Regions from separate parts of the Homo sapiens genome. Here region 2 is linked to region 1. The links are contacts of gene promoters, found by promoter capture Hi-C in human tissues and cell types (Jung and others, 2019). All regions are on one chromosome and are shown on one strand. Each heading gives the region's core, a stretch centred on a gene start or on the middle of the fragment in contact. The rest is flanking DNA. Distances are from core to core; before and after follow the strand shown. Region 1 holds the start of ZSCAN2 (zinc finger and SCAN domain containing 2). Region 2 has its middle 82 kb from the start of MIR7706.

What was found. The method cuts DNA at HindIII sites, captures the fragments that hold promoters and counts their contacts. A contact is called where the count stands out against the background at its distance.
Region 2: a fragment that was not itself captured here is called in contact with the fragment with the promoter of ZSCAN2 in region 1 in 1 of the 25 tissues and cell types used here (hippocampus).

The regions. Positions count from the first base shown.
Region 1 is chr15:84,598,768-84,602,689 of GRCh38, forward strand. ZSCAN2 (zinc finger and SCAN domain containing 2) reads left to right here and starts at 2,242. Exons shown (of 3, transcript NM_181877.4): 1 at 2,242-2,368. It overlaps LOC105370947 (a long non-coding RNA gene), which reads right to left. Exons shown (of 4, transcript NR_186225.1): 4 at 667-1,036. RefSeq lists an enhancer at 2,090-2,139 and a silencer at 2,460-2,609. The HindIII fragment of the contact is 21,972 bases long and covers 1-3,922 here.
Region 2 is chr15:85,296,235-85,300,131 of GRCh38, forward strand. No RefSeq gene overlaps it. Among named protein-coding and RNA genes, the nearest start is that of MIR7706, 82 kb to the right of the region's middle. The HindIII fragment of the contact is 7,430 bases long and covers 1-3,897 here.

The sequences.
Region 1 (3,922 bases), core at 992-3,491:
GGTACTGGCTTGGCTACCAGGGCCCTTCTCAGTAGGATCATTATGCCATGAATTGGTCTTAAATGTGACTTTCTCTCTGTCTCATGTAGGATAGTTGACACTGGCAAGGACCAGCTTCCCAGAATCAGACACAGAGGAGACAGCTTCTTTAGGACTCTCCAGTGACAAGCTAGTGCCAGTTCTGTGGTCAAGGGTTGACATGGGTTAGGAACAGAGGTAAATAAACGCTTGAGCTGCTGGAAAGTTCCATCTGTGCATCCCCAGCCTCCCCTGCATCTTTTCCTTTTTGTGTAAATTTCCATTCCTGGTAAGGATGGACACATGGAGAAACCCATCTTTTTTAATACAATGTCATCCCAAAAAAAATCACTTGGAGGGGTGGTGGCCCAGAATTCTGCATCCAGGGGCTTAGTGCAGACTTCTCAGGCTGGCCTGGAGGTGGTGCTATTTGCATGTGGTCAGTCTGGGATAATAAAGATGCTACCAGGGTATTGGATAAGAATCACTAGCTGAACTTCACTTTGCATCTCTGTAATTGGATTCAAGAGGTTAATTAGTGAAAAACAGGTGAATTTCACATAATCTTTGGAGTGGTGCAGAGGACTTTCTAACACAAAACTCACAGGCTATAAAAAGATAAGATTAACAAATTTGACTGCAAAAAAATTTCAAATTTCTATATTTAATAAACCAGCAGAAAACAAACAGCAAACTGAGAAAGAGTAGCAACTGCTGTGACAAAGGGATAATTTTCTTAATATACAAAGAGCTCTTACAAATAAATCCAATTTAAAAATGGGAAAAGGACCGGGCACGTGGCTCATGCCTGTAATCTCAGCACTTTGGGAGGCCAAGACGGCTGGATCACCTGAGGTCAGGAATTCAAGACCAGCCTGATCAACATGGTGAAATCTCTGTCTCTACTAAAAACACGCAAAATTAGCCAGGTGTGGTGGCGCACGCCGGTAATCCCAGCTACTTGGGAGGCTGAGGCAGGAGAATCACTTGATCCGAGATCGTGTCACTGCACTCCAGCCTGGGCGACAGAGGAGGAAAAAAAAAAGCAGTCATTTCATTGCAGGTGCCTCCAGTAATTGCTCAGTGCAAACATACATAACTATTCTATCACAGACCATTAAGGGTGTCTCTCTCCATTTTTAGATTTTCCGCTTGAGTTTCCAGGTAGTTTCTCACCTGTTTTCAAGCAGGGTTGGGGCAGCCGTTTCTTCAACAGCGCCAGCCGTAAAACACAAAGATGGAGGCCAACCTCCCACACCCGGGCACCCTCCCTTCCCCCATACTGAGATTGACAAGTAAGCAACCCGGTGATCAGTACTAAAATGGAGACGTCAGCCAGGTGCGGTGGCTCACACCTGTAATTCCAGCACTTTGGGAGGCTGAGGAGGAAGGATCGCTTGAGCCCAGGGGTTCGAGGTCAGCCTGGGCAACATATGGAAACCCTGTCTCTATGAAATGTAGATCCTGTCTGTGAGTGTGTGTGTATAAATAAATATATATATATATATACAAATACATACATATATATATTTAAAAAATAAAATGGGGACGTCCAACACGTGTACTAGGGGCGGTGTCTCTGCCTGGGGAGGTGGTGATGACAGGGCAGGCTCCACCCAGGAGAAGCTGGAAGAATGGGAGTTCCGCGGCAGAGGAGGCGGGGCAGGGCGTTCCTCCAAACACAGGAATACCACGTGCGAAAACAAAGGGGTGTGCGAAGACCGGGTGCATGTGTACAGCTGCAAACTGGGGGAAAGGCGCCAGGCTTGGGCGATGAGGATTTGTTCCCCCATGGATTCCCTTCCTGCCCAGGGTCCGCTCTCGCCGGTCGAGGGTGCCTAACAATACTCCTTGCCACAAGGTTCGCAGCCGAAAAGGTCCTTCAAGTCCGGCCATCCAACTTTCACTTTTTATAGACAAATATACAGAGGCCTTAGATAAGTGAAACGGCTTGTCTCGGGTTACAGCTCTAGCCAACACAGGGTTTCTGACGGTCAGTCTGCGGATTTTCCTGCCTCTGGTCCGCAGGCACTGCCCAGGCTGTCAGCCCCAAACCCTACTCCGGGGACCGCGGTCAGGTTCGTCTCCGGGCGGACTACATCTCCCACAATGCCTTGGGCCCAGCCTCCCTCCTGCCGCCCGGCTGGGTGCCGTCTCCACCAACAGAAAGGCAGAATTTCCAGGGCCGTTCTCGGCAGCCAATGAGCGCGGCGGTGGGCGGGCCTCTCCCGTCCATTGTTCTCGGTGCCCCACGGGCTTGAGCCGGGGTGAATCTGGAGGGGCCGGGCCGAGCCCGGGGGCGCTTTCGCACGCGAAGCAACCGCTAGAGCAGGACCTGGTCTCCCGAGAGGTGAGCCGGAGAGGCAGGCCTGGAGCCACGCGGACCCCGGGCAGTAGCCCGAGGTGAGGGAATAGTGGGCCTGGAGCCAGCTGCCGGCAGCTCTGCTGGGGGAGGGGCGTCGGGGTCGCGCTCCGTATCCTGCGGGCCCTGCAGCCCCGATTTACGCGCCGGCTCCGCTCAGCGAACCGTCCCGGACGCGTCTCCCTGGCGGAGAGCTCCTTGCCTCTCCTACCGAGAAGCGCAGGCTTTGGACGGGAAGGGGCATTCGACGACATCCCGCGCAGCGTACACGTTTTACAGATGGGGAAACTGAGGTTCAGAGGGGGCGTGTCGTGCCCCAAGTCAGACCGCAAATTAGCTGACCTGGCACACTTTTCCCAGGCTCCCAAGTAGGAAGAGTTCTCTTACACCATATGCCAGTATTTCTTCTAGTCATTTGAGTAAATACACGTTGAGAGCTTCGGTTTTCCCACTAGCTTTTATTTTTTGTCCTTTTTTTTTTAAGCTTTTGTCAGCTTTTCTCCCCTTTTCATTGAGGGAGGGTTGTTAGTTGAGTCTTTATGATGTAGTAATGATTTTTTAAAAAATTTTTTTATTTTTGTAGAGACTGGGTCTCACTCTGTTGCCCAGGTTGGTCATGAACTCCCGGCCTCAAGCCATCTTCCCTCCTCGGCCTCCCAAAGTGCTGGAATTACAGGCGTGAGCTACAGCGCTTGGGCTAAAAATAATTTTGTATTGCTTTTATAATATTTTAAGTCGTTTGCAATTCCACTGCTTTCAATATTTTGTAGGTGCCGTCCCGTTCTTTTTTCCTGTGAGTTCATTTTTTTTTTTTTTTTTTTTTGAGACGGAGTTTTGCTTTTGTTGCCCAGGCTGGAGTGCAATGGCCTGATCTCCGCTCACCGCATCCTCTGCCTCCCGGGTTCAAGCGATTCTCCTGCCTCAGCCTCCGGAGTAGCTGGGATTACGGGCATGCGCCACCACGCCTGGCTAATTTTGTTTTTAGTAGAGACGAGGTTTCTCCGTGTTGGTCAGGCTGGTCTCGATCTTCCGACCTCAGGTGATCCGCCCGCCTCAACCTGCCAAAGTGCTAGGATTACAGGTCTGAGCCACCGCGCCCGGCTGTGAGTTCATTTTTAAAGGGAATTGAGGACTTACTGTGTCTATGGTTTTTCTGCCCTGCTGATTTTGTGTTTATCCATTATTTTCCTATCAGAAGGATTATCTTAAATCATTAATGATTAATCTTTGTCAATATAATTTTTAAAATATTAAAAACATACAGCGTAATGTGCAGATCTTAAATTTCATATGTTTGCTCTTGTGCCGCCATTGCCAAATGAAGATATTGAAAATTTCCATCATCCCAGAAGGCTCCTTTGAGCCCCTTTCCTGTCATTACCACCTAAAGGTAGCCATTATTATAGCACAGTTTCTTTTCTTTTTTTTCCTTTTCTTTTCTTTTTTTTTTTTTTTTTTTGAGACAGAGTCTGGCTCTTTCGCCCAGACTGGAGTGCAGTGGCACGATCTCGGCTCACTGCAACCTCCTCCTCCCAGGTTCGG
Region 2 (3,897 bases), core at 1,369-3,868, 700 kb after region 1:
GAAAAAAAAAAAAAAAAAAAAAAAGTATCCTTGTGCTATGGTGGTTTGCTGCACCTATCAACCTGTCATCTTGGTTTTAATTCCCGTATACATTAGGTATTTGTCCTAATGCTCTCCCTCCTCTTGCCCCCTACCCCCCAACAGGCCCGTGTGTGATGTTTTCCTCCCTGTGTCCATGTGTTCTCATTGTTCAACTCCCGCTTATGAGTGAGAACACACAGTGTCTGGTTTTCTGTTCCTGTCTTAGTTTGCTGAGGATGATGGTTTCCAGCTTCATCCACGTCCCTGCAAAGGACATGAACTCATTCTTATAAAAAAGACATTTAGTCTTTGGGAAATAAATACTGAAGATTAGCTTCAAATGGACAGTGGTTTGGATGTGATTCTTGCATCTCTGACTAAATCGTAAACTTATCCAAGTCATTGTCCACTGTGGCTCCCACAAAGCTTTCAGGCCTGTCTTCCTTGGTGATCTTGCTTTGATGTGCTATGAAAGACTGTCCCAGCAGATGGCAGAAGAGAACTGAGTCAGGAAAAACCAGCCTGGGTATTTCAGTGTGCACTGTGCACTGGGTAAAGCTTCTGCACCTTAATGTCCCTGCCGCGGTAGCGCTACACGTCGACTTCACAATCGCTGCTGAACTTCCCTAATAAAGGTGGGTCAGCAAAGGCGTGAGGGTTACCACTCTATCCAAACACCATGTCACTGAGACTCACTTAGGAAGAACATTCATTTCCTGAGTACTTCCGTAGTACTGGAAACGGGGATGAATACAAAATAGTCCCTGTCCCCACAGAATTCATAGTCCAGCTGAGATCAAATAAGGACAGAACAATTTGCATTTTGCCGGGCTGTCCTCTAATGACAATAATTTCCTGAATGTTTTCAGGTTGCCTGTTTTAGCCATATGTTCTTCTCTGGCCGCTTCTCTCCAGCCCCAGCCTCAAGTCCAACTCATGATCTCTGGCCTAGGATACAGCAACAACCTCCTAAGGGAGCTGCCTCTGCTCTTATCCACCTCCAGTTTATTCTCACCGCATAGACAAGATAATGTTTTAAAAATGCAAATGCGATTACACTGTATACCACCTACTCAAAAGATCTAATGGCTTTGTATTGACCTCATAATAATACCCCTGCCCTTAATCTTACTTAAAAGGCTTTTTGTGATCCGATCCCTGTTTTTCTTCTCCTAACTTATCTCACCCTCTCCTCCTGCAATCAACTCAAGAGGCTGACTTTCAGTTTCCCAAATGATTTTTATCCCCTACCAGATTTGCCCAAATTGCTTTTCTCTCTACCTAGAATGCCTTAAAACTAAAACTCACTCCCTCCCATCTACCCATCCTCCTTAACTTGGCTAACTAGTATTTATTCTTCTGCTCTCAGGTTAGATATCCTTTCTTTTGGGAAACTATCCCTGACAGTATAAGGCTGGGCTGAATAATCCTCCTGAGTACTCCAGAGCACCCTCTGCTTCCATTCCCCTCGCATTTACCGTATTTCTTCGTAATGAGTTTGCGTATCTTCCCCTGTCTACTGTAAATTCCTGGCACATGAGGACTTCCTCTCGCACAACAATGTATCCCCATTTCTTGACACAGTTCTTGGTACAGAGCCGCACTCGATCAAAACTTATCAAGTAAATGAATAAATCAATCATAAAACACAATTGATACCATCCAAGAAGTCATAAAATTCTTGGGGCACAAGGTCTTAGGAGAGTAGATCTTTCTGTGTGTATCAGCCATATCCCTTTTTTTTTTTTTTTTTTTGAGATGGATTCTCTCTCTGTCACCCAGGCTGGACTGCAGTGGCACTATCTCGGCTCACTGCATCCTCCACCTCCCGGGTTCAAGCGATTCTCCTGCCTCAACCTCCTGAGTAGCTGGGACTACAGCCACCCCCCACCACACCCAGCTAATTTTTCAATTTTTAGTAGAGATGGGGTTTCGCCATGTTGGCCAGGTTGGTCTTGAACTCCTGACCTCATGATCTGCCCACCTTGGCCTTCCAATGTGCTGGGATTACAGGTGTGAGCCACCATGCCTGGCCAGCCATATCCCTTTTCATCAAGATGTTGTCAACCATACGCTCTCAAATCAAGTTGTGACCAGGTGCGGTGGCTCACGCCTGTAACCTCAGCACTTTGGAAGGCCAAGGCAGGAGGATTGCTTGGGCTCAGGAGTTCAAGACCAGCCTGGGCAGCATAGGGAGATCCCATCTCTACAAAAATCATTTAAAAATACTAGCTGGGCGTGATAGCATGCACCTGTGGTCCCAGCTACTCAGGCGGCTGAGGGGGGAGAATCATCTGACCCCAGGAGGTCAAGGCTACAGTGAGCCATGATTGCACCACTGCCCTCCAACCTGAATGACAGAGCAAGACCCTGTCTCAAAATAACCAAACAGAACAAAGACAAGTCGTTGTTGTTTTATGCAAACAGGCTTTGAACTTGGAGCAAGTCACCTAGTCAATCTTCTTATCCACAGCAAAGGAGTTCTGAAACAAACAAACAAACAAACAAAAGCAATTTTTACCTTTCACAGTGTTTCTTGTGTCATCCCAGATGGTTAAAATGAAAAGGCTTTAATGAAGGGACTATTCACAGAGTTTCTGGACTGGATAAGGTAACAAACAAGGTATGGTAGGACACCTAGAGACTAGCAATGGTGAGAAGCTATTACTACCCTCCCCGCTTCCAGGGCCTATTGAGACAAGGGAAGGAAACACTTATCAGAGCCCAGTGAGTAAGAGTTGTACCTAGGATGCAGCTACAGTTAGATATAGCATGCCAAAGCAGGAAGAGAGCTGGAAAGAGCTACCCTGACCTCTGCTGAATCCCACCCTCCCATCTTCCCACAGAGCCTCCCACTGGCTGAACCCCAAAAGCCAGCTAGGAAGAAAGCCTGGACAGTGCAGTCCACTGGATTCAGTGGAGCAGGGAAGAGCATGAAACTGGGAGGGACCCTAGGCCCACAAATAACCAGCATCACACATTACGCATTGTCTTCCTGCTATGACAGATGAGGACTCAGCTCCCTTACCTGCAACCCCCCACTCAATATAGTTCTGGCACTATTTTTAGTAGCTGTATTTTAATAAGCACCTCAGCCAGCACCTGTGAAAGCAGGACTGCATCCTCTCTATGTCCTTAGAAAAATGTAATTAAGAAATAGAAAATACAGAGATTTAATTATCAAATAATTTAAATGCACAGAAAAATCCAGAAATAAATATAACAGACACCCATTTGTGGTCAACCCAGATGTAACACATTAACTTTTAGTTATGTGTTGTTTCAGAATTGTTATTTTCTGTTTTTTAAGGAAAAAATTGCAGATACAGTTAAGATCACTCTCATAGGCCGGGTGCAGTGGCTCATTCCTATAATCCCAGCAGTTAGGGAGGCCGAGGCAGGCAGATCACTTGAGGCTGGGAGCTCAAGACCAGCCTGGCCAACATGGTGAAACCCTGTCTTCACTTAAAAAAAAAAATACAAAAATTAATCAGGAGTGGTGGCACACACCTGTAATTCCAGTTACTTGGGAGCCTGAGGCACAAGAATCACTTGAACCTGGGAGGTGGAGGTTGCAGTGAGCTAAGATTGTGCCACTGCACTCCAGCCGGGGCGACGGTGTGAGACCCTGTCTCAAAAAAAAAAAATTTACTCTCATCTCTTTCTCCCATTCCTGCCCTCTCTCATCTCCAGAAATAAACACTATCATTAAGTTGGTGTGTATTATTGCATCTATAATTTTGCTACATATATTTGTATCTATAAACAATATACAACGTTGTTTTATGTCATTTTTTAAATTTACAAACGGGTCCCTTACTATGATATCTTTTTGGATCTTATTTTATAAACGCAGTACAATGTGTCTGAGACTTG